Regions from separate parts of the Homo sapiens genome. Here regions 2, 3, 4, 5, 6 and 7 are each linked to region 1. The links are contacts of gene promoters, found by promoter capture Hi-C in blood cells and fetal thymus (Javierre and others, 2016). All regions are on one chromosome and are shown on one strand. Each heading gives the region's core, a stretch centred on a gene start or on the middle of the fragment in contact. The rest is flanking DNA. Distances are from core to core; before and after follow the strand shown. Region 1 holds the start of XKRX (XK related X-linked). Region 2 overlaps BTK (Bruton tyrosine kinase). Region 3 has its middle 23 kb from the start of TAF7L. Region 4 overlaps TAF7L (TATA-box binding protein associated factor 7 like). Region 5 overlaps DRP2 (dystrophin related protein 2). Region 6 overlaps DRP2 (dystrophin related protein 2). Region 7 has its middle 9.3 kb from the start of DRP2.

Region 1 (4,033 bases), core at 946-3,445:
CACCCAGGCTGGAGTGCAATGGTGCTATCTTGGCTCACTGCAACTTCTGCCTCCTGGGTTCAAGGGGTTGTCCTGCCTCAGCCTCCCGAGTAGCTGGGATTACAGGTGCCCACCACCACGCCCAGCTAATTTTTGAATTTTTAGTAGAGACAGGATTTCACCATGTTGGTCAGGCTGGTCTCAAACTCCTGATCTCAGGCCATTCACCCACCTTGGCCTCCCGAAATGCTGGGATTACAGGCATGAGCTACCGCGCCCGGCTGACTCTCTCATGTTTAGGGGGACCAACTCACCCTATCCCAGTGAAATGGGATTAATTGGTCACCTTGCCTGAGATTCACCTTGTGAACAGTTACCTAGAGCAGCCCCAAGAGGTTCTGCACCATATACTGGTGGTGGAGAACCTTGTCCCAGTTGGAATGTCCCAACTAATAAGAAAAAGAACACTCTCTGAAGTTGTTCTCAATAGTGTTGACCTCCTTCATGAAATGGAAAGGAGAAAGGAGCAGCCTCCTAGCCCAGCTGCTAGCATAGGTGCAGACCAAGATGCGGAGTCTGCTTCAGAAGGTGACAACCTTTAGATGTTGAATCTGTCCCTGAATCAGCCCTGGGGAAAGGAGGCAGCAATCATGGAAACCTTAAAAAAACAAAAAACAACATAATGACAGGACAACCTGGAGGCCATTATTTTGGTGGCTGCTACTTGGCCACTCCTCACATAGATTTGTTTTACTGACTTCCTGCAGCAAAAGGAGATTGGCACAGGCTCTGCTACATAATCATCATTATTATTATTATTATTATTATTATTATTATTATTATTAAGACGTAATCTTGCTCTGTTGCCCAGGCTGGAGTGCAGTGGCGTGATCTCAGCTCACTGCAACCTCTGCCGTCCGGGTTCAAGTTTTTCTCCTGCCTCAGCCTCCTGAGTAGCTGGGATTACAGTCACGCACCACCACGACCAGCTGATTTTTGTATTTTTAGTAGAGATGGGGTTTCACCACGTTGGCCAGGCTGGTTTCGAACTCCTGACCTCAAGTGATCTGCCTGCCTCAGCCTCCCAAAGTGCTGGGATTACAGGCGTGAACCACTGTGCCTGGCCTTCATCTATATTATTACCAGGAGGCAGATGTGTTCTCTTTTTCTCTGAGGTTTAGAATTATGCAAATGAAGATATGAAAACAAAAGCTCAGTGAGGTGGGGAGGATTACACTTAAGAATACAGGTAATTTTCAAAGCTCTTTAAGACACCCCTCTCAGTTTTTACTAACAGCTCTCTCTTGGCTCTTTGCCAGTCTGTTTAGAATTTGGCACCTCTTCATAACCTTTCAACCAAAGACCTGTAAGTTCATTCTAAAGCTCCTATCCTGGCCTCATTTTGCAAGTGGAGAAATCAAGGCATAAAATATGAGCTTTCAGTGTCTGTGGGCTGACCTTGAGTCTTGACCTTTATCCTGTTCTATCTTCCCTCCGCCGAAAACTCTGACCCTATTCCTCCCAGGTTCCCCCTTCATGATATTATCTGGAGGGCAATAGGACCTAGGGAGGTTCCACCCTGCGGCGGAGGGAGACACACCTGCCTAACAGCGTGGGTAGAGTGAGTGTTGAAGCAAGTCACTTAACTAGTTAGGGAGGGCGGGGTAGAAGTGGGGGCCTGCTGCTCCTAGGGAGGAGTAAAGCTGTGGCTCCTGCCTGGGTCTGGAGGTGGTGGTCAGAAGTGCTTCTGAAGAGCGGCCCAAGCCCCTTTTTGTCCCGCCACTCCACAACGAGCATCCCTCGGCTGGCCGCCTGCCCGGGAACTCTCCGGCTGGTTTTGTTTGGCCGCAGCCGTCCCGCCCATCTCGCCCGCCCCCGCCGTCCCGGTGCCTTAGTTTTTGAAGCTGCCGACCTCTCGCAGCTGGAATCGCAGACCAGGCAGGACCCTGGCAGCAGACGGCGTCCAAGAGTTTGGCGACCTCCGTCCAGCCAGGTTGGCGCCCCGCACATCGTGCCTCTCACTAGCAAAGTTTCTCCGAGGAGAAGCAGCCCCTCCAGCCTTTTCTTCATCCTGTAGAGCGAGCGCGCTCTGCTTCTGTCCCTCAACACTGCATTCGGAGACAGGGTGGTGACAATACTCCACTCCCGGGCCAGGCGGTCTTGGGGGCGGGGCTTGGGGGAATCCGAGGAGCTATCCTGAGAACCCTGGACTCGGCAAAGGTCCTGAGAGCGCGCAGGTGAGCGGGCCAGCTGATAGCTACAGCCTAGCAATAGCTAGGATACCTAGGCACTGAACTGAATCCCCTCTTCTGCCCTCCTTCTTCTGCGCCCGCTCTTCTGCCCTGGCTCAGCTCTCCGCTGACTTGAGAGGACACACTGGTCAGGACTCTTTGTGAGGAGCTGCTGAGTGTCGGTGCCCCCGACAGATCGGCTACACCCTGCCTGAGGGGCTGCGAAAGGAGCCGCCACGGAAGCCGCTGTTCTCATGACTCTTCACGTCCCTGGAGTTGGACTCTGGATGGGGCGCTGGGATGCTTGCTTTTGTCTTGTTCAAGTTTCACAGCAAGTATGTTGACGATTGGAATCGGGGCCAATCAAGAGTCAAGTTCAAAGTGGTACTCCTGGGCTTTCCATCCCAGACTCCAAGTCGAATCTGAGTCTAGAAGAGAGCGGTTTCTTGCTCTAACTAGTGAATCTCTGTTCCCAAACTGGACTTGACAGAGCTCTCCTCACCTATACTTGGACTGTAGCGGCCATAGGGTTCTCTTGGGGATGGGTGGGAGGGTGCTATGAACACAAGACCACAACATTCAGAAAGAACCTCGACAATGGACAGAGTTTATGAAATTCCTGAGGAGCCAAATGTGGATCCGGTTTCATCTCTGGAGGAAGATGTCATCCGTGGAGCCAACCCCCGATTTACTTTTCCATTTAGCATCCTTTTCTCCACCTTTTTGTACTGTGGGGAGGCTGCATCTGCTTTGTACATGGTTAGAATCTATCGAAAGAATAGTGAAACTTACTGGATGACATACACCTTTTCTTTCTTTATGTTTTCATCCATTATGGTCCAGTTGACCCTCATTTTTGTCCACAGAGATCTAGCCAAAGATAAACCGCTATCATTATTTATGCATCTAATCCTCTTGGGACCTGTTATCAGGTGAGCAACTTTTAAATCTTTTCCTTACCCCCCTAACCCCACCCCAGACTTGGGCAGAGAAAGATGAAAGATTTACAAGATGGATACTATGGCTCTAATCAATTCTCTCATTTCCTCCCACTCTCGGCTTCCCTGTCTACCATTCAGAAAACTTACCTGAAATCTTAAATGCCACCATGATGAACATGTGGTATGTACTTGTGTTCCAAAACAATGAACGATGCTATTTGGCCTGTGTAAACTAGAATGGGAACAACAAGACGTGATCACCCTGTGCATGAAGGCCATAGCTGCAGAGTGTGTAATTTTATTTAAAAAATTTTTTTTTTCTGAGACAAGGTCTTGCTCTGCCTCCCAGGCTACAGTGCAGTGGTGCGATCATGGCTCACTGCAGCCTTGATCTCCTGGGATCAAGCGAACCTCCCACCTCAGCCTCCAAGTAGCTGGGACCAAAGGAATGTGTCACCATGCCTGGTTAATTAAAAAAAAATTTTTATAGGCCGGGTGTGGTGGCTCATGCCTGTAATCCCAGCACTTTGGGAGGCTGAGGCGGGTGGATCACCTGAGGTCAGGAGTTCAAGACCAGCTGGCCAACATGGTGAAACCCCTGTCTCTACTAAAAATCAGCTGGGTGTGGTGGCGCATATCTGTAATCCCAGCTACTCTGGTGGCTGAGGCAGGAGAATCACTTGAACCCGGAAGGTAGAGGTTGCAGTGAGCCAAGATCGGTGCCACTGCACTCCAGCCTGGGCGATAGAGTGAGACTCCATCTCAAAAAAAAAAAAATTTTTTTTGTAGAGACGGGATCTCGTTATGTAGACTGGGCTCAAGTGATCTTCCTGCCTCAGCCTCCCAAAGTGAGCCACCGCGCCTGGTCTGAGTGTGTAATTT
Region 2 (4,033 bases), core at 884-3,383, 450 kb before region 1:
GCTAAAACTGAGTGTTGGGAAGGGCTGATTGTAAACTCATCAATTTGTCACTCCAGTGAGAGACCATTTAAACCAGGGAGTCAGGGTGTGTGGCAGGGTGGAGGGAAAGGTTTGCACTCTTGCCCAATTTTTCTCAAAATCTAATTTACAAAATATTGAATTAATCCACCTCCAGAAGATAGTGGCATACACATGGTAGATAAGTGGCAAAGCGATCTTCCAGAACACCCCTGGTGTTCCTTTGACGTATTTTCGTCTCCCCAGCATGAGAATAGAACCTCCTACACCACAGGAAAGAGCAAAATAACAGTGTGGATAGCCCCCAGGCTTTGATAAAATTCACTCCCTTGCTTTCCTAGTGTGAGCAATAATCTGCTTAAAAAGTAGAAAAAAACTGCTGGCTTTATTCATTCTGCTTCCACGGTGCCACCAAAAGCATAAGGAGTTTACTTAAAAAATAGACACATTCCCACCCCCACCCCCCCACCAGAGGAAAAATCCCTACCACTAATTAAACTTGAATGGAGGGCTGGTGGTTTTTTCGTTACTTACTTAGTGTTTTTTTGTTGTTGTTTTTGATTTTGTTTTTTGAGACGGAGTTTCGCTCTTGTTGCCCCGACTGGAGTATAATGGCACAATCTCGGCTCACTGCAACCTCCGCCTCCTGGGTTCAAGCGATTCTCCTGCCTCAGCCTCCCGAGTAGCTGGGATTACAGGCATCCACCACTACGCCCGGCTATTTTTGTATTTTTAGTAGAGACGGGGTTTTGCCATGTTGGCCAGGTTGGTCTTGAACTGTTGACCTCAGGTGATCCGCCAGCCTCGGCCTCCCAAAGTGCTGGGATTACAGATGTGAGCCACCGCGCCGGCCTAGTGTTCTATTTTTATGACAGCATTTGTTTTCACTTTATCTTTCCAATGAAAGTTCGGAATTAGTAATAATATTACACTGTGCATAAACTGTAAGTGAATAACTGATATGAAGTGTTGCTTGGTGTGAATAAAAAAGCCAGTGGTGACTTTGGGAACTTTATTTGTCTTTCTGTGTTTCAGTTACCTAAATTGAATCCTTCTGGAGTATTGTAGGTTTGGGGAGGCTAAATAAGTTGTGTTTCATAAATGAACAGAGGTGGCATCTATATCAGTAAGACAGTTGCATCACTTTTGCATGATGCTGTCTAAAAGAACTAATTTAAGCTAAATGGGGAAAAGGTCAGAAAACAACAACTACCCCCCCCCCACCAAAACCCACCAAAAAAAATTATGTTTTCAACTTTAGAACAAATCTTCTATCCTTTGTAGCTCAGTCAGTGGGTGTGGGCAAAATCAGTTGGGCAGCAGTTAGTGTGTGTCCAGAACTGCAGGTGCAGCCTCCATATCCTTATTAGTTCCCTTGGTTACAGACCCCAGTGGGACAATGTTTGAAAAATTATATTCACCGTCTAGGAAATTGGGAACTGAAAGTCCAATATCTGCCTCAGTGGAGTTCTGGCACCTGCATTATCCCTTCTGGGTATATCAAGATCAACAGCTGCACAGATACTTTTGCTTTTCACAGATTCTACACATATCATATAAAGGTGAATAGTGTAAAGCTACCTCTACACCTTACCAAGCACACAGGTGCGTGCCATTTAACATCTAGAGCATTCCATTGCCTTATACAAGAACTCAGTTTATATGAGCTCACAACATCGAACCAATCCCCCCCCAATTCAGTGTGCATCCATTATACCTGAAACCTGACAGAGCTGGGGGCTGTGGGAGGAGGTTGGTAGGAAGAAATTATTTTGTGAGCTGTGCACATTTTTGTTCCATTTGAAACTAGGTAGCTAGGCTGAGGGGGAACCAAGAGGGATGAGGATTAATGTCCTGGGTCCTCAGGAACTTTCATTATCAACAGCACACAGGTGAACTCCAGAAAGAAGAAGCTATGGCCGCAGTGATTCTGGAGAGCATCTTTCTGAAGCGATCCCAACAGAAAAAGAAAACATCACCTCTAAACTTCAAGAAGCGCCTGTTTCTCTTGACCGTGCACAAACTCTCCTACTATGAGTATGACTTTGAACGTGGGGTAAGTTTCTCGACTATGAAAACTGAGTTTCAAGATATCAAGGACTTGGCCTTAGATCTTTCTTGGGGAAGAGGTAAATTTTCGTTGGTAGGAGGAGGGGAGTAGAATGGACCTAAGTTCTTTCAAATTCAGCAAAATATTTCCTAGCCTATAACTAGCTAAAGCCGGAAAGTCAAAGGTCCTAAGAAGCCACAAGGAAAATATTACCATGGAATCTTGGAATTGATGAGCACTCATTAAATGATTGTTGAAAATGAAATCGAAGAGTTGGAAATTGCTTCCTTACTTCCTATGAGGAAGGTACATACAGTCATTCACTCTTCCATGGTATTTGCCCTCCATTTGGTAGTCATAGATTTATAGATCTGGAAGGATTTTTTTTTCTTCCCCCACATGACAGGTCCTGGTGCCACCTCACTTTGTTGAATGATTAGATAACAAAATCTAATCATCTGGTTGCTTAATCCCTCTTAATCTTTCTCCATTTTCTTCCTCATTCTACTTCTCAGAGAAGAGGCAGTAAGAAGGGTTCAATAGATGTTGAGAAGATCACTTGTGTTGAAACAGTGGTTCCTGAAAAAAATCCTCCTCCAGAAAGACAGATTCCGGTAAGAAGAGACCAATGTCTGAGATGGGGAACAGCAGATTTGAAGAAATTTGCAACATTTAAATTCTCTGTAAATAGACTGGTGATGCTGTGCAACGTGGAACACGGTCAAGTTTCCTTTAAAAATTCTTCACTCTACCATATTGGTTATAAAGAATCTTAGCTTCTTTCCTTCATATTCAGAACATCTCACTAAACATGGAAAATTTGTTAACACAAACTTTTAAATGATGCTATATCTAGTTTTCAAACTGGTCAGAGATCATTGATTTTATTCCCTCAGTTCTCTCAGGATCAGATTTAGAGGCTTAAGTAAGTCTGAATGTCATAATCCTAGGGCTCTGAGTCACATGATATCCTTTAATACCTTACTATTTATTCTCTTCTCACTTTCCGGAGCGAGAGACATAAAACCTACTGATTTTTGAGTTCACTTTTAAAAAATATATATCAATTTCAGTATTTTCTTTTTTTCTTTTTTTTTTCTTTTTTTAGACAGAGTCTCGCTCTGTTGCCCAGGCTGGAATGCACTGGTGCCATCTTGGCTCACTGCAACCTTCACCTCCCGGGTTCAAGCAATTCTCATGCCTCAGCCTCCCAAGTAGCTGGGATTACAGGTGTGCACCACCATGCCTGGCTAATTTTTCGTATTTTTTTAGTAGAGACGGGGTTTCACCATGTTGGCCAGGCTGGTCTTGAACTCCTGGCCTCAAGTGATCCGCCTGTCTCGGCCTCCCAAAGTGCAAAGATTACAGGCGTGAGCCACCCACTGGGTCTGACCATTTTCAGTATTTTCTTGATCACAGGAGAATTGCGTATTTATTACAGAAACTCTGGAATATATAAAAAATACAAAAAGATTAAAATGATGCATAATCCTGTTACCCAGTTAAAACAACTATCAACATATTGGTGTACATAGACTTACAGATGTTTTTCTTCACTGAGAACACATACGCATACACTTATATATATGTCATATATTTAAAACATAGACTCATAGTACACATCTTGCTTTGTAACGTACTTTTTCAATGTAACGATATGTGGGAAACTTTTCCCCATGACAATAGATATTCTTTAATAACATGATTTTAATGACTGTATGGTATTCCCTATTATGGATGTATTGTAATTTGTTTAATCTCCCATTATTACACATTCGGTTTGTCTACAAGTACTTGATAGTATAAACCATGTTGAGAGGAACAATCTTGCATACATCTTTCTGTACTTTTTTTATTCTTTTCCTTATGATAATTTCCTAGAAGTAAAATTTTGTTCTTCTCTTTAAGAAAATCTGTGCACTTTGGTTATTTTTATCTTTTTATTTCATTTTCTAGAAGTGGAAT
Region 3 (4,033 bases), core at 553-3,052, 390 kb before region 1:
GTTAAACTGGCTTTTATACAAAAGACAGGCAATAACAAATGCTGGTGAGGATGTGGCGAAAAGGGAACCCTTGTACACTGTCGGTGGGAATGTAAATTAGTACAACCACTATGGACAACAGTTGGGAGATTTCCTCAAAAAACTAAAAATAGAGCTACTATACGATCCAGCAATCCCACTTCTAAAGAAAGAAAATCAGTATATTGAACATATATCTGCATTCCCATGTTTACTGCAGCATTATTTCACAATAGCCAAGATTTGGAAGCAACCTAAATGTTAATCAGCAGATGAATAGATAAATAAAATTTGGTACATATACACAATGGACTACTATCCAGCCATAAAAAGAGTGAGATCTTGTCATTTACAACAACAAAGATGTACCTGGAGGTGATTATGTTAAGTGAAATAAGCCAGGCACAGAAAGACAAACTGCACATGTTTTCACTTATTTGCGGGAGCTAAAAATTAAAACAATTGAACTCATGGAGATACAGAGTAGAAGGATGGCCACCAGAGGCTGGGAACGGGGTGGTAGGGGAGTGGAGGGGAAATGGGGATGGTTACTGAGTACAAAAAATAGAAAGAATGAATAAGACCTAGTATTTGATAGCATAACAGGGTGACTATAGTCAACAATAATTTAATTGTACATTTAAAAATAACTGAAAGAGTATAATTGGATTGTTTGTAACACAAAGGATAAATGCTTGAGGTGATGGGTACTCTATTTACCCTGATGGGATTATTATGCACTACATGCCTCATCAAAACTATCTCACGTACCCCATAAACATATACATCTACTATGTACGCACATACACAAAATAATGAAAATGAAAAAAAGAAAGCAAAAAGAGAAAAAAGAGGAAGAAAAAATTACTCCGTTTTCAGACTAGTTTTGTACTGGGGGACTCAATGCTTAGCCAGTTCGTTTACAGCTCTCCCTTGGCGTTCAGTTCCTGCTTACATGGATCCTGACGTCAGCCAGAGGTGAAAACTTAGGTTCTTCTCGGCCCTTTTCTGAGCATGTTTCTGAGCATGAGCGCCTGGCGTGCATGTGGCCTTTTTCAACTCTCTGGTATACACAGGAGCTGTTAAAATCCCTTATTTCCCCACATATTTCCTTTCCGATCTTCTTCCTTCCTTCAGTCTATTATTTGTTCTGACTGTTATCTCTTTCCCCAGGCTGCTCCAGACAATATTGTGCCTTCAAATACTTTCAGCAAAAGCTACCTGCTTCTGAGAATGCTCCAAGTTGGGTGAAATGAGGCAGGTCCTTGCACCAGTTCTTGAGAGAACCACTAGTCAGGTTGAAGCATAAAATCACATTTGGAAATAAGGTCTGCATTGCTCCCTCCAGCACTATAAAGTTATACCAGGAGTGTGGGATGCTACCTTCATGGCTGCTGCTGATCTAAAGCAGGGAGTTGGCAAGCAGGTGATTAAAAACACCAGAGCATTCTTTTACTGCAATGTAGCTGCTTCTTTCTTCATTAAGCTTTCCCCTGCTTGTTGTAAGTTTTCGACTAAATTCCAGAGTTCTGCAAAAATTGACAGTCTTTGCCAGCTTGTTGTTTGATTTTGGAGAGATGGAGCCCTGGGGTTCCCTGTTTTGCCATTTTCCATGACATCATGAACAAGTATAGTTGTCATAAGCTTTTGATTAGTTTCCAGAGCTCTGATAAAGTTGATTTTGACACTGTTTGCTGGTTTATTTTCCGCTTTTGTGAAGGGATAGACTTTTGGAGTTCCCTACTCTGTCATTTTTGCTAATGTTACTTAAATTCAGGTATCTTTATTAGGGAAAATTGTCCATTTCAGTATTTTACTCCAACAGGGAGTCATTGCTGGAAGAAGACAATGTCTGACCACTCTGGCTTCTACAATGGTCTAGTCATAACTCTCAGATCCAGCAATTTCATTGGCAGAAGCTTTACCTTACAGGAGATGGGCCTTATTAAAACCATAAGCAGTAGCTCCATTAAACCAGGTACAACAATGTCTAAATTTTTTTTTTTTTTTTTGAGACGGAGTTTCACTCTTGTTGCCCATGCTGGAGTGCAATGGCTCAATCTCGACTCACTGCAACCTCCGCCTCCTGGGTTCAAGCAATTCTCCTGCCTCAGCCTCCCGAGTAGCTGGGATTACAGACATGCACCACCACACCCGGCTAATTTTGTATTTTTAGTAGAGACGGGATTTCACCATGTTGGCCAGGCTGGTTTTGAACTCCTGACCTCAAATGATCCACCCGTCTTGGTCTCCCAAAGTGCTGGGATTACAGGTGTGAGCCACTGTGCCCAGCCAACAATGTCTAAATTTTTAAAAGGTTGATTATTTAGCTTTTATTCTCTTCCTCTTGCTTTCTTTTTTTCCCACTAGCACATTTTCTTCCTTGCACTTTTCTGTATTTTTTTTTTTGAGATGGAGTCTTGCTCTGTTGCCCAGGCTGGAGTGCAATGGCGTGATCTTGGCTCACTGCAACCTCTGCCTCCCGGACTCAAGCGATTCTCCTGCCTCAGCTTCCTGAGTAGCTGGGATTACAGGTATGCACCACCATGGCTGGCTAATTTTTGTATTTTTAGTAGAGACGGGTTTCACCATGTTGGCCAGGCTGGTCTCGAACTCCTGACCTCGTGATCTGCCCTCCTCGGCCTCTCAAAGTGTTGGGATTACAGGCGTGAGCCACCGCACCTGGCCTCTGTATTTTTTTAAACGTTTTATAGTCAACATGCATTTAAATTTTATAAAAAGACATGTAAATATCTTGTTTTATAAGTGGAATAAAAGAAGATTTATGAATGTAATAAGAAAGAATTCAAGCTCCTTACTACAGCTTATGAAGAACAGTTAAATTTTTAAATTATCTTTTCCCCTGAAGAAAAATATAAATAGTTGTAGTTTTACTTTATTATATTACAGTGTTCTAGAATTGATAGATTACTACTTTTTATCCCTTTCTTTAGTTCACAGTGGTGATGGATACCTGAAGAAATGATTCTGGTGGGCTAGATTCATATTCAGCAAGTGTTCTTCACTTTACAACCTATTGGAATTACATTTAACCCAATGCTAATTTAAAAATAAGTTTGTGTTGAGAAGCCAGCAGAACAATATTTTAAAAACTTTTTTTTTTCATGGATCACGGTCAGGTTTAGAATAAGTCAACAAGCATTCAGAGTTTCTCCTTTTCCAGAATATATTCAATAAAATTTCATTTTTTCCCATACACAGACAGAGTCACATAAGCCTAGACACATCATATTTACTTACTTTTCTTTCTTTCTTTCTTTCTTTTTTTTTTTTTTTGAGACAGAGTGTCGCTCTGTCTCCCAGGCTGGAGTGCAGTGGCGCAATCTTGACTCACTACAAACTCCGCTTTTCTATAATAAAAAAACAAGAGTGTATCCCGGGCTGGGCATGGTGGTGGCTCTAGAATTGATAGATTACTACTATTACTATAATCCCAGCACTTTGGGGGACTGAAGTGGGAGGATCCCTTGAAATCAGGGGTTCAAGACCAGCCTAGGCAACATAGCAAGACCCCCATCCCTACAAAAATTTTAAAACTAGCCAGCTGTGGTGGCATGCACCTCTAGTCCCAGCTACTCTGGAGACTGAGGTGGGCGGATCGCTGGGGCCCAGGAGGTAAAGGCTGCAGTGAGCTGCAATGACATAACTGCACTCCAACCTGGGTGACAGAATGAGACTCTGCCTCAGGGAAAAAAAAAAAAAGAATTATTTCTCCATACATTGGTCAGCATGATTTTCAGAAAACACAAATCAGATCACGTTACTATCCTGCTTCAAACCCTCCAATGAGAAACATATCTTGTTCATGGATTGGAAGATTCAGCAGAGTAAGATGTCAATTCTCACCAAATTGATATAGCGGGGATCCTATCAAGATCCCCACAAGATGCTGGGTGCAGTGGCTCACTCCTGTAATCCCAGCACTTTGGGAGGCCAAGGCAGGTGGATTACCTGAGGTTGTGAGTTCAAGACCAGCCTGGACAACATGGTGAAA
Region 4 (4,033 bases), core at 975-3,474, 350 kb before region 1:
CATCCAGAACCTGAAAATTGGGAATTGTGGTTATATTCCTAATGTTATTTCAGGCTTGTAGAATCTTGGGCAAACTACAGGAGTATTGTGGCTTGGCTTCTTCTTTTGTTTAAAATTAAACATGTTATTTTGAAATAATTGTAAATTCATATACAGTTGTAAGAAATAAAAGAGAGATATCGTGTACCCTTTCGCCATTTTCCCCATTTTGCAAAACTATAGTACAATACCACAAACAGGTAATTGACATGATTAGAATTCTGCAATCTTATTCCAATTTCTCCAGTTTTACTTGTACTCGTGTATTTTTGTGCATGTGTTTAGTTCTATGCAGTTTTATCCCATGTGTAAGTTCATGTATCTGTCTACACAGTCAAAATACAAAACAGTTTCATCACAAGGATCCCTCATTTTGCTTTTATATAACCATGCCCACTTCCCTTCCACCTCACACCCCAGTCTCTGACACTTGGTAATCACTAATCTGATCTCTATCTCTGTAATTTTGTCATTTCAAAAATTTAATATTAATGGAATTATATAGTATATAACATCAGAGACTAGCTTATTTTTTCATTCAGCATAATTCACTTAAGATCCATATAAGTTTTTGTAGCATCAATAGTTTATTTTTTATTGCTGAGTAGTATTCCATGGTATGAATGTACCACATTACATAACTGTTCTCCCTTTGAAGGACATCTGGGTTGTTTACAGGTTTTGACTATTATAAATAAAGCTGTGAACAGGTTTTTGTGTGAATATAAGTATTCATTTCTTTGGAATAAATGTCCAGGAGTATAATTGCTGGGTCATATGGTAGTCACATGTTTAGTTTTGTAAGAAATGACCTGTTTTCCAGAGTGACTGTACCATTTTATATTCCTGCCAATAATGTATGAATGATCCAGTTTCTCCACCTCCTCACCAGCATTAGGTGTTGTCACTATTTTTCATTTTAGCCATTCTGATAGGTGCATAGTGATCCCATTGTAGTATTAATTTACATTTCCCTGATGGTTAACGGGGTTGAGCATCTCATGTGCCATCTATTCCACTTCAGCGAAATGTCTGCTCATGCCTTTTGCCTATTTTCTAAATTGATTTTTTATTATTGAATTTTGAGAGTTCTTTTTATATTTTAAATACTACCAGTGTTTTATCAGATATGTAGTTTGCAAATATATTCTCCCAGTCTGTAGCTTGTCTTTCCATCCTCTTCGTAGGGTCTTTCAGAGAGCAAAAGTTTTTAGTTTTGATGAAGTACAATATATTGATTTTTTTGAAAACGATCTTGCTTTTTATAGTAAATCTAAGAACTCTTTGCCTAGCCCAGATCCTGAAGATTTTCTCCTGCTTTTTTTTTTTTTTTACATCTTTTTAAGCCTGATGCCCATTTTCGACTTAATTTTTGTAAAAGCTATGAGGTTTAGTTCAAGGTTTTTTTTTTGTTGTTGTTGTTGTTTTGTTTTTGTTTGTTTGTTTGTTTTTGCTTTTCTTGCCAAAGGATGTCTAATTGCTCTCGCACTATTTGTTGAAAAGGCTATTCTTCCTCTGTTGTATTGCTTTTGCACCTTTGTGAAATATCAGTTGGGCTTGGTTTTATGGGTCTGTTTCTGGGTTCTCCATTCTCCTCCACTGATCCATCTGTCAATCCCTCCACCAATATCACAGTGTCGCTATATAATTGGTCCTGAAATTAGAAGGCTGATTGCTCTGACTTTACTTTTCTTTGTCAATATTGTTTAGCCATTCTAGAGTCCATATCTTTATTTATTTATTTATTTATTTATTTTTTGAGATGGAGTCTCGCTCTGTTGCCCAGGCTGGAGTGCAATGGCACGATCTCTGCTCACTGCAGTCTCTGCCTCCCGGGTTCAAGCGACTCTCATGCCTCAGCCTCCCAAGTAGCCAGGATTACAGGCATGGGCCACCATGCCCGGCTAATTTTTGTATTTTTAGTAGAGACGGGTTTCACCATGTTGGCCAGGCTGGTCTCGAACTCCTGACCTCACGTGATCCGCCCGCCTTGGCCTCCCAAAGTGCTGAGATTACAGGCATGAGCCACCACGCCTGGCCAAAAGCCTGTATCTTTTAATATAAATTTTAGAATAAGCTTGTCTATAGCTATAGAAAACCTTGCTAGAATTTTGGCAGGAATTACATTAAACTTGTAGATCAATTTGGGGAGAACTGACATTTTTACTATATTGAGTCTTCCAATCCATGAACACAGTTGCCTTGGCTTTTATACTCTGTAAATCAACATTTATTGAGTGCCTACTAAATGTAAAACTAAGTTAAGGATAGTTGTAGAGCTCTTTAAGCTTTACTGAAATATAGGTATCATAATATAACTTGTTTATTGTGTTTTATTTCATAGGTCCCTGATGTCAAAGAAATGGAAAAAAGCAGCTTTACTGAGGTAGAGCAATCATAATATAACTTCATTTTTACCCTTAATGTGTTTTATTTAATAGCTCATTAGTTTCAAATGAATCAAATAAACCACAGAAGCTACTTTTGAGCCTTCCTTCTCACCTCTAACCCTCATCCTAAACACATACACTGGGTTTGATTCACTAAAAAATGAATTCATTGTTTGATGTTTGATAACTGCTAGAGGAAAAGATACAATTTGGCCAGTGACCCCGTGTATTCTAATCTGCTCTTTTTATTCTGATATTTATTTCAAAAGCCATTCCTTGGGAGCCAGAGCTCACTTTTAACAGCAGTTGTTTGCAATTGCTTATTCCCCATCAAAATCCTAATTTCTATTTGTGGCACAACAAATTGGTTGCTGTGGAGATAATTATGTAAAACTGGATTCAAGGGAGAACATGCAGCTAAGATCCAGTTTTTATAGGAACGTCTCTAATAATAAAGATGTGGGGAAGTGAAATCTGGGAATTTGGATCTTTAAACCAAATTATTTCTAAATAACTAATAAGGAATTATAGTTCTTTGCCAATATAAATCAGGAGAAATAATTTATAACTGAGACCTAAGGGTTGCACCTCTGAGAGAGGGCTTTACCATAGAGCTGCAGATTGAAAAGATTAAATGTCTCAAGTAATTTGTTTAATTAGGAAAAAAGTAAGTTTACTGTACAAAATTCTAGACCCTGGCTAAAGATTCCTTTATAAATAGCACTACTTAAAGTAGAAATTTGGTTGGATCAGAATTTAAAGAGGCCTAACATTTGAATTCGTTGGTACGTAGGAGGGCACTCCTGCAACACACAGGGTGTTAAATGACAGTATTGGTATCCCCCTCTAATCCCCAACTTTGCTTCAGTACATTGAATCTCCAGACGTGGAAAATGAAGTAAAGAGACTGCTGCGTTCGGATGCTGAAGCCGTAAGTACCCGTATCCTTTATACAAATATTTTCTGCATAGTCTGTTCTGCCCCATTTGTACATGCTGACGAAGCCTCACCTCTGGTGTTTGTGTGCCAGTCTTGATGTGTGGAACTTAAGATTCTTTGAAATGTTCTAGCTAGGAACAGTAAATTCATGTAATAGAAAATTATTTATTGTGTAATTCAATATGAGGCACTTCTCCAAACTAGGAATTCCAATACAAATGGCCTAAAGTTGGACTAAATTAAATAGCACTGTTAGCCAAAGAGCCCCTTCCCTTTCAGCTGTGCCTTTTTGTTTCCTTCTGTGTTTTCCTTGACTACCCACTCCTTTCAGGTTGGGAAGTCATTGCTGAAGATGGAACCAAGGAAATAGAAAGTCAAGGCTCCATCCCAGGATTTTTGATATCCTCGGGAATGAGCAGCCACAAGCAGGGTCATACCTCGTCAGGTACTTTAGTAAAGGCAAAGCAGGAGTTTCAGATAGGGCAGGTATTGACTGGGTATCAGATCATTTTCCATAAATTCATAGGCCAATCCAAAAAAAAAAAAACCCAGAAAAAAAGGATGGTTTCGTCCTTCCCTCTTTTTTTTTTTTTTTTTTTGAGATGGAGTCTTGCTCTGTCGCCCAGGCTGGAGTGCAGTGGCGTGATCTCGGCTCACTACAACCT
Region 5 (4,033 bases), core at 408-2,907, 330 kb before region 1:
TTCCAGGACTTTCCTGGTAAAAAATTGCTCCATAACATGTACCCGCCTAAGGCTTAGGCAGGCATATGCCTCCAAAGTCCTTGAGCCCTCCGTCCCACATTCCCGCCCACAATCTAGGCTTCTACAAATATGCTCCCACTCTGACTGATGCCCAGGTTCTATGATTGATGCCCGCCTACCACCTGCTCAACCATCTATCCAGATACCCAGTTCTCCTGCCCAGAGACCTCATGAACACTAAGGCAGATGTTATGCTGTGAAGTCTGACACCCTGGACCTGTGACTTAGTGGTGGAGGAGGCAACCCTAAGCTTCTGGACCCAAGCCACTGCCCTGCCTCCCCTGCAGCAGATCAAACTAGGTTCCTAGCAGTTCTACCCACTGGCCCACTGCTGGATTATAATACAACACCCCAACCGTCACTCCCTCCTGATTGTGGTGGCAACTGTTGCTTTCTTTAGCCCTGAGTGAGACCATAAGAGCTGGAAGGGACCAGAGAATGTTCTCTGTGTCTTAGCTGGCAAAGGCTAATAAAGGCCTGTTTGTCCTTTTCTGCATGGGGTGGGCAGAGCTTGGGTTTGCTCTATTTTGGCACCTGAACCATTTAGGGGAGCCCAGGAAAATTCACCCAAGGCCCAGGTCTCAAGGGAACAAGATTTGGAATGAGTGAAGAGAACAGTGACTCTTCCTGTTAGATTCTCTGTGACCACAGGTTTCTGTTGCTTTGGTCTTGAGGACAGCCCACCCCAAACATCAATGGAGAGAGATATCCTAGGGGAACAGCCAGGATACATCTATCTTTCCAACCAGAGGCTGGGGCTAACAAAGAGCAAGGCAGAACATTAATACTTCAAGAGGTATTAGAATTTAATGTGTGAGTGAGGCCAGGAGAGCACTGATGTACAGTAGATATGTAGAATAGATATGTATGTATATAAACTTAGGCAAATGAAGTCAACTGCAGGGCTCTAGGTTATAAAGCTCCTCTTGGGAGAAAGCTGCCTAAGTGGGCTCTGAATCTATTCAACATTCCCAAGCCCACTCCCCCACCCCTACTATCTATTCTGAACAGTTTCTGGATAAAGAGATCATGGTATATGTCGCCTAGGAAGAGCTAGTTCAGTTTGAGGATTGGATTCACCTTCCAGAGTTAGAAATAACAATTTTAGGCACAGGAAGGCCTTGCTGTTGTTGTCTGGGTGGAAAGTGGCCAGCTTCCTGATTTGTGGCCTGTGGCTCCTATGGAGGGGCCACTACACACGGTAGCCAGTTGCAAATGCCTTATGATTAGCTGGGGACAATCAGCCACCTCACCTGATTCAGCCTGAGAGCTAGAAGGGTCACAGCCTGGAAGGGTGTTGGATGGCAGTCATACTACTCCAGACTTGAGGTGGGCTTCCTCTTCCTTACCCAAGGAAAGCAACACTCCCTTGCTCAGCAAGCTGCCACTGTGTCCTCAGGTCTGTGAGGACAGACTCAGAGGAGCAAAGGGTGGCTTCAGCCAGGTTTCCAGAGCAACTCGCAACTCAGTGGGTCTCTCAAAATGCTGAGGACTTTAAGAAATAGGAAGATGTGGGGCAAAAAAAAAATCTAAACCCATAAGTATGGATTTAATGCTTCCAAATATAACGTAGAAGAACCAGAATGAACTGTTCTCCCCTTAAGGAAGGTCTGTCAGGGACTGAGGCTAAAGAAAATGAAGATATTTGAGGAGAAACCAATACCTAGGTAGCATTAGGATGGCTAGCAATCTGTCCTGGAGCTGAAGTAATAGAACACACACTGCCCAGACTTTTTCAGGGGCACTTGGGGTGGGGAAGGTGTCTCGGGGATACCCTTTTGCCTCCCTGAGTTGCGCCAGAGAGTAGGGGTAAACCCTGTGGATTCATAATGCTGGATGGAACCTTGGGGTAATTAGGCTTCTCTCTTTCCATAATTCCACGGAGAAGGAAGAGGGGCCAACATGTACCGCTTAGCTCTGCAAGGCAGCTTCTCTGCTCCCCATCTGAATGGCCAAGTGATATTTGCCTGGGCTGCAACAGAAAGGTACTTAAAGGGCTGATCTCGAACTTGAAGATTAAAGGGAACATTTCTAGGGTCAGAAGAATCATGCCTCCCCTTCTCCCATCACTGCCCGCATGCACCTCACATACCACCAGATCCCTGCTGCTGCCCAGAGCCCAAATAATACTAGTTGAGGAATGTGGGGCCAGTGGAAACTGGAAAGGTTGGGTGAAGGCTGAGGAAAGGCTTTGACCGGAACCAGGAGAGGACTATGAACTATAGGATGGGGATCTGGCTCCATCAAGAGGCCAGCAGGGTGTTGGCAGTCACATCAGAACTTCGCACACTGGGGAAGGCATGACGGAGTTTCTCCATGATGTCCTCCAAGCACAGGCTGACATCCTGGCTCTTTGACCCCACATCATCTGGGTTAAAAAACAGAGATTTGAGAAGAGAACTAGAGACTCCTTTATGAGGCCAAGGGGTCAGATAGAATTCTGCCAGCTGAAGGGCAGACCTGCCCGCAGCATTTGCATCTTCCCAGCACAATGCCTAATACATAGGTTGTGCTCAATGTATATTTATTTGTGGAATAAGCATATGAATTAATCAATCAGTAAACCAATCATCCCTGACCCTAAGCACAAAGCCAAGAGGAGAAACCAGTCCCAGCCCCGCAAAGCCTTGGGCAGGAAATCGAGGGCAGGACAAAGCCATGGAGAAAGGGGCTGGGAAAGGCCAGGGGAACTCACCTGCAGCCTCGGTATCTGGAGTAGTCTGTCCCTTCTCCCGGGGGTGACTGCCTTCTGACTGCTGTGGAGAGGAAGCTAGGGACGAGCCTGCAGAGCCACTGCCATCTGATTCGGTGGGTGGCTAGCAAGAGGTAAGGCATGACTTAAGTGGATTTGCCTTCCTGACCTTACTCTGACAGACTCCTGAGCTTAGAAGGGACCTGAGAGACTTCATACCATCCCTTTACCCTTAGACTTTAAGAAGCTTTTGGTATTACCTAAAACAGTGGCTTCCACTTTTAGGAAACTTCTTAGAATATTGAATTACCCATTACCTTCTTCCTTTAACAACATGTGTCAAAGGCTCCCAGTTCTTATAAGAATGGCATTGTAGGCTGGGCGCGGTGGCTCACGCCTGTAATCCCAGCACTTTGGGAGGCTGACGCAGGCGGATCACCTGAGGTCAGGAGTTCAAGACCAGCCTAACCAACATGGAGAAACCCCGTCTCCACTAAAAATACAAAATTAGCCGGGCATGGTGGCCCATGCCTATAATCCCAGCTACTTGGGAGGCTGAGGCAGGAGAATCGCTTGAACCTGGGAGGCGGAGGTTGCAGTGAGCTGAGATCGAGCCATTACACTCCAGCCTGGGCAACAAGAGCCAAACTCTGTCTTGAAAATTAATTAATTAATTAATTAATTAAATAAAGAATGGCATTGTACCTAAAGGTCTCTTGCTGTCATTTCAGCTATAATTAAGCTATTTAGAACACAATTCTCTCTGGAAATGTAGAGTTTCACACCTGATCCTTGGTTCATGACATAGCATATGTTAGAAACCTCCAGGAATCCATAGAGGCCATTCCTTGGAGGATCTGGGGAAGAGGCAGAAGAGTGGTATTTTCCATTACATATAATGACAATAATAGGTAACATTTATGAAGTGTGTACTAAATTCCTGGCATCATGCTAAATTCCATAAATGCATTATCTCCTTTTATGTTCACCACAATTCTATGAAGTTGGTACTGTTACCATCTCTGTTGTACAGATGAGGAAACTGGGGCTTAGAGAGGTTAACTAACTGTCCAAACACCCCACAGTCAATTGGCAGAGCCACATGCAAACCCAGAGCTGCCTGACTCCAGAGCTTTACCACAGCATACACATTGCCTCTCAGAGATGAAAGGTGCAAAAAGTAACAAGAAACACCTTTAGATAGCACTAATCTTTCTCTTGCCAAACTTGTCCCAACCCACTTCTTTCTAGCAAATACCATACTAGCAAAATCAATGTTTT
Region 6 (4,033 bases), core at 498-2,997, 310 kb before region 1:
ACTACAGGCACACACCACAAAACCTAGCTAATTTAAAAAAAAATTTTGGGCCAGGCGTGGTGGCTCACGCCTGTAATCCCAGCACTTTGGGAGGCCGAGGTGGGTGGATCACGAGGTCAGGAGATTGAGACCATCCTGGCTAACACAGTGAAACCCCGTCTCTATTAAAAATACAAAAAATTAGCCAGGCGTGGTGGCAGGTGCCTATAGTCCCAGCTACTCGGGAGGCTGAGGCAGGAGAATGGCATGAACCCAGGAGGCGGAGCTTGCAGTGGGCCAAGATCACACCACTGCACTTCAGCCTGGGCGACAGAGCGAGACTCCGTCCCCCACAAAAAAAAATTGTAGAGATGGGGGTCTCACTATGTTGCCCAGGCTAGTCTTGAATTTCTGGGCACAAGTGATCTTCTTGCCTCAGCCTCCCAAAGTGCTGGAATTACAGACATGAGCCACTGTGCCCAGCCAGCACTATGTTTTTAAAGGACATACTGGTACTTTTATTCATTGAGTCAGTTCAATTCATTTGAGTGGTTTTTTGTTTTTCTTTTCCACATCTCATTAAATGGCCACACATGCTGCTCCAAAGAGCCACATACAGCTTTGGGTCACACAACTGTTGACCCCTGCTCCAGGCTATATTCTCTTTGCTTTTTTTCCTGCAGTAGGAATCTTGCTTCCCCCCAACTTTGGATGGACTCCTGGGGGAAACTATCCTCCTAGATAACAGGTAAGAAAATGAGTTTGGGGAAGGCAGGAGGGTGTTTGTTCAGCATTCAGCAGTACATGGCTCAAGAAGAAGTGGGAAAAACAGAAGACCACCTACCTTTGCTCTCAGAATGAGGCTCCTCTAACTCCTCAAATGGGTGCTGGGACAGGAAGGCCTGAGCTGACTCCAGCACAGAATAGATGTAGGGGCCCCGAGACTTGACTTCTTCCATAAAGGCCTATAAAGTTTAGCAATATGGTCAACAGGAAAGGAAAGTTTTTCAATCACTTTACATTCCATCCTGCAATTGACAACCTTTCTTCTTCTCAGTGTGTCTTGATTCTTTGGCATTATCAGGTATCTTTGAACTACCTAGACAAAAAGGCGTGCAATCCTCCTGATAGACAGAAAAATAACTCTGACACTGGAAGGTCTGTTTAGTATGAAATTTGTCTGTCTATGCCACAGGATAGAGAAAAATGTGGGGATCTTGGTTCTCCAGAAGACTCAGAAAGCTTCCTGTAAGGGTCTTATGGAAATCAAAACCAAGATAGGCAGGATTTATATTAAAATTATAATTAAATTTTTGGTTGAAATATATACGGGATACACAAACTAAAACTGTACATCTTGATGTAACCAGTACTGAGATCAAGAAACAGAACTCTATCAGCATCCCAGGTGGGCCCTCCTAGTCACTATCTCACCTTCATGCCCCACCCCTCCCTCCCCTCCCACAAAGGTGACCACAATTTTTACTTGTAAAATCACTGATTAGTTTTGCCTATTTTTAAACTTTGTATAAGTGGAATCATACAGTATATACTCTTTTTGTATCCGGCTTTTTTTCACTCAACATATTGTCTGTCTGTAAGATTCACCCATGCTGTGGCACGTGGTTATAGTTTATTTTATTGCTGTATTATATTTCATTCTGTAGTCATTTTAAGAAGTATTTTAACTACAGCAGTAATATATATCACAGAAATATTAGAAATTTCAGAAAGATATGAAGAAAATTAAGAACTCCAATTTTATTACCTAGAGTTAACCATTGTTAACATTTTGATATAGTTCCTTCCTATGCTGTTATATGTATGTAAACATCACACTCATCTATATACATTTTTATACAATTGAGATCCACTTGCACTTAGTTTTGTATCCTGTGTTTTTTCACTTAGCATTATGTTATGTTCATTTCCCCATGTTCCCATTAAAAATCATGGCAGTATTTTAAGGGAGGCTAGAATTTGATGGGAGGGGTAGAAAGAAAATATTTGACTTAGGCTGTGGCATGCTAGCCACAGACTAATAGGACTGCATACAGCCTCCTATTCATTTAGGTGTCTCAGCAGAGCTGGGTGTCTGTCAGGGTACTGAAGAAGGGATTCCTCCCCAGCTGAGAGGCTACACACCACGGCTTCTCTGATTCTAACCTACCGCATGTGTCTCCTTCTCCTGTTGCACCAGGGCCACATCCCCCTGTAGGGGCAGCTGAGCTGACAACTCCTCATCCTTTTGGCTGAGCCAGTCAATAATCTCTTGAAGAGGGAGCTGAAGCTTTCCACTGTGGTCTGAGAAGGCCTCTAGGCGAGCGCTGCACACAATGAGTAAAACCAGTGATGTTCAGTCTTCTTTTTAAGTGGCAAAACATTTTTTTTTCCAAACTAAGTTATATGGAACTTTAATATAGAAAACAAATTCAGGAGGAGCTTTTCTGGTTCAAGTGGGAGGAGGCCTGGAGTCCTCCCTCTTACCCACCCAAAGAGGGTCCCAAGGCACCTCCACATAGAGCACAGTACTAAAACCAGTAGGTAGAACCATGGGTGTGGAGGCATCCCAAACTTCAATGGCTTAAAATGTCACTTTGTGGATCTCAGTTACTTCAGTTGCATGCCAAACATCAGGCTGGGAAGGGTAGGAAACTGAACAAGGGCATTAGAGGTGACAGCTGTCTGGTTCCCCTCTTGCCCTGGTAGAATTCAAGTCATGCCAAACTGCTCAACCATAGAGGCTGTTCCGAACTGCCCTCTGAGCAGGAGAGGATTCAGTAAGTGGAAAGGGCAAGTTGGGTGGTTGAGTATAGGCATGCACATGTGCAAGGATGCATACGAATATAACAGTCCTTGGGACCCAAAGGAACATTGGCTAGAGGTCTGAGATATGGAAACAGAAAAATCTGTACTGTATAATTATCTCTGTCTGCCCTCCTACCCCGCTGCCCTCCAAATGAACCATGGTAGGAAGCTGGAGGCTGGCCAAGGATATGTGCAGCCATCAAGCCATTCCCCTTGGCTGACAATAATAACTATCTTTATTCATTGCCCCCCCCTCACCACCACCTAGGCCAAGATCTTTACCTAAATTATTGCTTCAACTAATTCTTACAAAAACCTTATTAAGTAGGCATTCCTATTGCCCAGAAAGGGTAAGTAGGTTCCCAAAGGTCACACAGTTAAGTCATTGATAGAGCGATGATTTGAACTCAGGTTTACCTGACTCCAAAGCCTGCATTCTTTCAACTTATCCACAATGCCTCACCCCTAACAAAGCCCATCAGAAGCCAGAAGCTTGGACTTTGATGATAGAGGGTGGAGAAAAAAAGTGGCAGGCATGCACAGACAGCTAGGGAAAGCCGATCAACTGAGAAAAAAATTGACTTCAGGCTCTTACAGAGCTACCCTTAGTTTGGGGAGAAATAGGTGGGCTGAAAACTTATGGATAGAACGTAAAAGGATGGGGAAGTGAACAGATGAGACCTACCAAGATATAGGACAGCTATGAGAGGAAGAGGAGAAGGGAGCAATCATCCCCTTCATTTATACCTCGGCATTTTTAAGTTTAGAAAGCATTTCCACATCTGATTTGAATTCCTATGACCACACTGTGAGGTAGTTAGAACAGGTATTATTCCTCCACTCATTTTTTGTCCTTATAAAAAACAAATGGAAGCTAACATTTCGAGAACTCAAACAAAGTATTCAGGGTGACACAACTACTTAAAACTGAGGCTCAGATCCAAGTCTCCTGACTTCTAAAGCAAGGCTGTTTCCCCAGTGCCAGTGTAGGAAAGGGAGAAGTGGGTGGGCTAAGGAAAGGGGGATGCACAGGCTGAGAGGAGAAGGACAGGGTGCAGCAGCAAAAGGAGCCCAACACCATCTAAGCCAATTCCCTAAGGCACCTGTTTCTTACCGGAGGTTGTGAGACTTCTTTTTTATTTCATTCCAACACAGATTCATGGCTGGTGGTTCCAGGGGTCCAGAGGCACCAACAGACCCGTTCAACAGCTTTAGGCTTAGGCAGGGAACCCCAGCACCATCTTGA
Region 7 (4,033 bases), core at 452-2,951, 280 kb before region 1:
ATACCCATTATCAGTTGCCCCCAATATCCCCCCAGTCCCTTCTCAGGCCTAGGCAGCCACTAATCTACCTTCTGTCTCTATAGAGTTTCCTATTCTGGCCATTCTACACAAATGACATCAAACAACATGTGGTCTTTTGTGTCTGGATTCTTTCACGTAGCATATTATCATCAAGCTTCACTACATCATTCCTATGTATGGCTGAATAATATTCCATTGTATAAATATACCACATTTTATTTATCCATCCATCAATTGATGGACATTTAGGTGTTTCCACCCTTTGGCTATTATGAATATTATTGCTATGAACATTTGTGTGCAAGTTTATTGTATGAATATATGTTTTCAATTCTTTTAAGTACATACCTAGGAATGGAATTGCTGTGTTATATGATAACTCTGCATTTAACTTTTTGAGGAACTGCCAGACCGTTCATCAAAGTGGCATCTCCACGAGCAATGTACAAGGGTTCCCATCTCTGCATATTCTTGCCAATACTTGTCTTTTTTAGTATAGCCATCCTAGAAGTTATAAAGTAGTATCTCATTGTGTGGACTCAAATCTTTAAAAAAAATCTTTAATGCCTCTATTTAGCTGGTTTCCTAAGCATGTGCTTAATCTACCTATTATTAGGCCATCAAGGACGGGGATCAGTCAAATTAATTAGGTTCCTGGGGCTGGAAAGCACATAAGGGAGGGCCTGCTCAGTGTAAAACATTTCCAACACCAAAGCAAGATTCAAAAATGACTAACTCACAATCTCTGTCTAATAGGGGAGGCAGACACCTACTCAAACAACTATTAAACAAAGTGGAATGAGAAAAGTGCTATAATAAGGCAGTGGAAGTGCAGAGGGGTGTTAAGGCATGCAATTCTTCCAAAGTACAGTGCTAAGCAGCCCCAAACATCACCAAAGCAGCCTAGATCCTTACCCCTATGCAGCTACCACATTAAGCCAGAGTCTTCTTGGAAACAGCTATAAGAGCAGGGAATAGGGCTCTTGGAGATATACTGTGCTGGACCTGAGAGGTATATTTGTCATTTTCTCATTTCAGTGACTATTCATACTTACTACCCACTGAGTAACCTTTCAGGCCTGGCCTCATTATTTTTAGTCTTATATCAATTTGTAGGACTGTACTGAAGAATAGCTGTAAAGTGCTTTGTAATTCTATGGTGTGTTATAAATAATAATCTCTCATTGCAACCATCTTACCAATAATAAGCAAATCCTACTCCAGCAGTTCCACATTGTACCCTCTCCAATCTACTATTTTACCTGAATCATTCCCATTACACTTCTTTGTATCAGAACACCCCAGCTTCTGGAGATAATGGTTACAATCAGCTAAACCTTCGGAGAGCCTTTCTAGTCTTAGAAGCAGTTTGATTCAGTATTTTGCTTCAGAAATAGAAAGCAAGCCAGGGAGATTGCTCCCACTTCATAAATGGAGACAATGAGGTACATAGAGATTAAGTGACCCAATAGTTAAAAAGGAAATATTACCAGACTGAAGTTCTGTGTGTCCTCCCTATCTTACCCTCACTCTACCCACAAGAAAACTTTAGCTATTAAGGTTGTGGGTTTGGGATGCCTACTCCCCAGGTCCCAAGCCTTTCTCCTAAGAGTAGCTAAGAGTAAGCAGGCTGCCAGAGCACAGCTAACTCATATTCAACAGACCAGAGAAGGCAATTTCACTTTTGAACTGCTCTCTACTTTCCTGAAGTGGGACTCAATTGTGCTTGAAAATGCAAGCACAACCTAATTGCCCTCAACCATCTGTCTAAACTTTCCTCAGAGCAATGGGCCAAAAACACGTGACCCTGCCTAAGGGAGGCCTTGGGGAAGCCCTTTGGAAATTAGAGCCCTCTAATCATTTATTTATTCAAATATTTATTGAGTACATACTCATTTTAATACTTAAGAGTGGTACTAGCATAGTAGTTACCAGCATGGGATCTGAAGGCTGATTGCCTGGGCTCAAATCCTGATGCTACTATCTGCTTATTGATTTTAGTTTCCCTCTTTGTAAAATGAAAAGACTAAAATTGCCAGAGGGTAGGTATGAGGATTAAATGAGATGCATATGTGAAGTGCCTAGCACATTGCCTGGTACATGGTAAGTATTCAATAAATGTTAGCTAGTATTGTTATTCATGCTGAATCAGAGCAAACCTGTCAGGGATCAATGAACAATACATAATAGATAATGGAGTAAAATTTTAGGGACCTTCCACCAGTTTCATGGGCCCATTGCTGAAAGCGTTCTGGGGAAGAAGCATGTGCTAAGAAGAGCAGTAGAGAAAGTGTTGTGATTCAAGGAGGTAAAGTAGAAATTACACTTGGATGCCAGAGAATGACTTGTTGCATTACTGAAGTTTCAGAAGAATATAAATGCCAAAGAGGACACTATTGCATATCAATGCATTCCATTCTAGAGGAAAAGATTCCTGCTAACAAGCCCAGTCCTTAGCACCAATGTTTTCCATCACACTATAAAGCACAGAATTAAGGCAGTGATTCTTAGGTGCAAAGCCCAGAACCTAACAAATTACCCCCAATTTCTCCCAGCAACCCTATTTCTGGAATTAGCTCTGTGAGTTGGGGTACTTCAACTGACCCAAGAAAAGGAAATAGTGGCCAGGCACGGTGGCTCACGCCTGTAATCTCAGCACTTTGGGAGGCCGAGGCAGGTGGATCACCTGAGGTCAGAAGTTCAAGACCAGCCTGGCCAACATGGTGAGACCCCGTCTCTACTAAAAGTACAAAAAATTAGCCGGGCGTGGTGGCACGCGCCTGTGATCCCAGCTACTTGGGAGGCTGAGGCAGGAGAATCACTTGAACCTGGGAGGTGGGGGTGGAGGTTGCAGTGAGCCGAGATCATGCCACTGCACCCCAGCCTGGGTGACAGAACAAGACTTTGTCTCAAAAAAAAAAAAAAAAAAGGAAATGATGTCAGAGAGAAAAGCCTACTGATGAGCCTATTGAGAGGATTAATTTAGGACTACCTTGAGGGTCTTGGGGGTCTCCTGCTGGGGCAAGGCTCAAAAGCAATGTAGGGAGGGTGGGAAGTGACAGTGAGACTCTGTTTTGACTATACTAATGACTATCAAGCAGGGATCTTTAACCTCATTCCTGGCTTTCATGTTTATTTAGTGTCTATTCTGTGCACAGCAGTGCCAAACATTGTAAGGGATACAAAAGAAGCAACAAATAAGCTTCCAAACTGTGATTAAATTGAAGTGGGAAAAATATTCTGTAGTTTCTGCCCATAACTTAATTCCAGATTGGAGAATACAATGTAACAGCTGCACTAATTGCTTTTATTTTACATACAGCACTTAGATTTAGGGCCTCTTGAACTCAATTCACAAACTGACATAAAACCATGTGTGAGTACTTCTGTTTGTTATAGGATTGCAGCCAGAACTGTATAAAATTCTCTGTTTATATTCTTTGCTGCACTGGTCTCTCGTTGGACTGGTATTCCATTGTCTTTAAACAGTAACTAACCCACTGAAATATTTCTGGTCCTTCCAGGGATCCCAAGGACATATACACAGTGGGTTAACACCATCAGCCATTCCTGTATCAGCTCTGCTGTTTTCTCTCAAATCCCTTTGCCATTTGAAGGTTTTGTTTTTGTTTGCTGCTCTCAATGGGCTGAACCTCAGAAACAGTGGGCTGGTGAACAACCATTTGTGAACAATCTAATTGTGAGAGAAGCAGGACAATGGCAGACTGAGCAGAATGAACCCTAAGCATCAACAAGCTATGAACCCATGTATCGGTACACTCTCCAGATTCCTCAGAGTTCCACACACCTCCCACTTAGGGTAAGAAGGCTCACAGTGAGGGGGAGGTATGAGGCAGAGGCAAGTACTTTTCTATGATTATTTTTCTTTTCTGCAAGACATGCTCAAAGAGTTCTCCTTTGATAGTGTGGGATGGGTTAGGTGTAGTTCATCTTGAAAGCAAAAAGACAGCCTCTTTCACCCATGTGAATCTGATTATACTTCCTGACTCCC

The links. The method cuts DNA at HindIII sites, captures the fragments that hold promoters and counts their contacts. A CHiCAGO score of 5 or more calls a contact.
Region 2: a fragment that was not itself captured here is called in contact with the fragment with the promoter of XKRX in region 1 in 1 of 17 cell types (total CD4 T cells); the score reaches 5.0 in total CD4 T cells.
Region 3: a contact is called between a fragment that was not itself captured here and the fragment with the promoter of XKRX in region 1, in 1 of 17 cell types (total B cells). The highest score is 5.2, in total B cells.
Region 4: a contact is called between a fragment that was not itself captured here and the fragment with the promoter of XKRX in region 1, in 11 of 17 cell types (fetal thymus, naive B cells, non-activated CD4 T cells and 8 more). The highest score is 10.7, in fetal thymus.
Region 5: a contact is called between a fragment that was not itself captured here and the fragment with the promoter of XKRX in region 1, in 2 of 17 cell types (total B cells and fetal thymus). The highest score is 5.2, in total B cells.
Region 6: a fragment that was not itself captured here is called in contact with the fragment with the promoter of XKRX in region 1 in 2 of 17 cell types (naive CD4 T cells and non-activated CD4 T cells); the score reaches 5.5 in naive CD4 T cells.
Region 7: a contact is called between a fragment that was not itself captured here and the fragment with the promoter of XKRX in region 1, in 8 of 17 cell types (non-activated CD4 T cells, activated CD4 T cells, endothelial precursors and 5 more). The highest score is 8.3, in non-activated CD4 T cells.

What each region holds. Positions count from the first base shown.
Region 1 is chrX:100,927,079-100,931,111 of GRCh38, reverse strand. It overlaps XKRX (XK related X-linked), which reads left to right and starts at 2,195. Exons shown (of 3, transcript NM_212559.3): 1 at 2,195-3,142. The coding sequence starts at 2,808. RefSeq lists enhancers at 1,549-1,598, 2,792-3,991. The HindIII fragment of the contact is 22,335 bases long and covers 1-4,033 here.
Region 2 is chrX:101,373,185-101,377,217 of GRCh38, reverse strand. It overlaps BTK (Bruton tyrosine kinase), which reads left to right. Exons shown (of 19, transcript NM_000061.3): 2 at 1,904-2,074; 3 at 2,584-2,682. The coding sequence starts at 1,934. Among named protein-coding and RNA genes, the nearest start is that of BTK, 11 kb to the left of the region's middle. The HindIII fragment of the contact is 5,931 bases long and covers 1-4,033 here.
Region 3 is chrX:101,312,551-101,316,583 of GRCh38, reverse strand. No RefSeq gene overlaps it. Among named protein-coding and RNA genes, the nearest start is that of TAF7L, 23 kb to the right of the region's middle. The HindIII fragment of the contact is 275 bases long and covers 1,665-1,939 here.
Region 4 is chrX:101,277,386-101,281,418 of GRCh38, reverse strand. It overlaps TAF7L (TATA-box binding protein associated factor 7 like), which reads left to right. Exons shown (of 13, transcript NM_001168474.2): 7 at 2,384-2,425; 8 at 3,298-3,370; 9 at 3,700-3,813. Among named protein-coding and RNA genes, the nearest start is that of TAF7L, 12 kb to the left of the region's middle. The HindIII fragment of the contact is 211 bases long and covers 2,119-2,329 here.
Region 5 is chrX:101,258,892-101,262,924 of GRCh38, reverse strand. It overlaps DRP2 (dystrophin related protein 2), which reads right to left. Exons shown (of 24, transcript NM_001939.3): 23 at 2,756-2,876; 24 at 1-2,428. The coding sequence ends at 2,304. Among named protein-coding and RNA genes, the nearest start is that of TAF7L, 30 kb to the left of the region's middle. The HindIII fragment of the contact is 2,689 bases long and covers 313-3,001 here.
Region 6 is chrX:101,235,892-101,239,924 of GRCh38, reverse strand. DRP2 (dystrophin related protein 2) reads right to left here. Exons shown (of 24, transcript NM_001939.3): 4 at 3,902-4,033; 5 at 2,150-2,306; 6 at 824-944. Among named protein-coding and RNA genes, the nearest start is that of DRP2, 18 kb to the right of the region's middle. The HindIII fragment of the contact is 1,048 bases long and covers 1,224-2,271 here.
Region 7 is chrX:101,208,506-101,212,538 of GRCh38, reverse strand. No RefSeq gene overlaps it. Among named protein-coding and RNA genes, the nearest start is that of DRP2, 9.3 kb to the left of the region's middle. The HindIII fragment of the contact is 3,048 bases long and covers 178-3,225 here.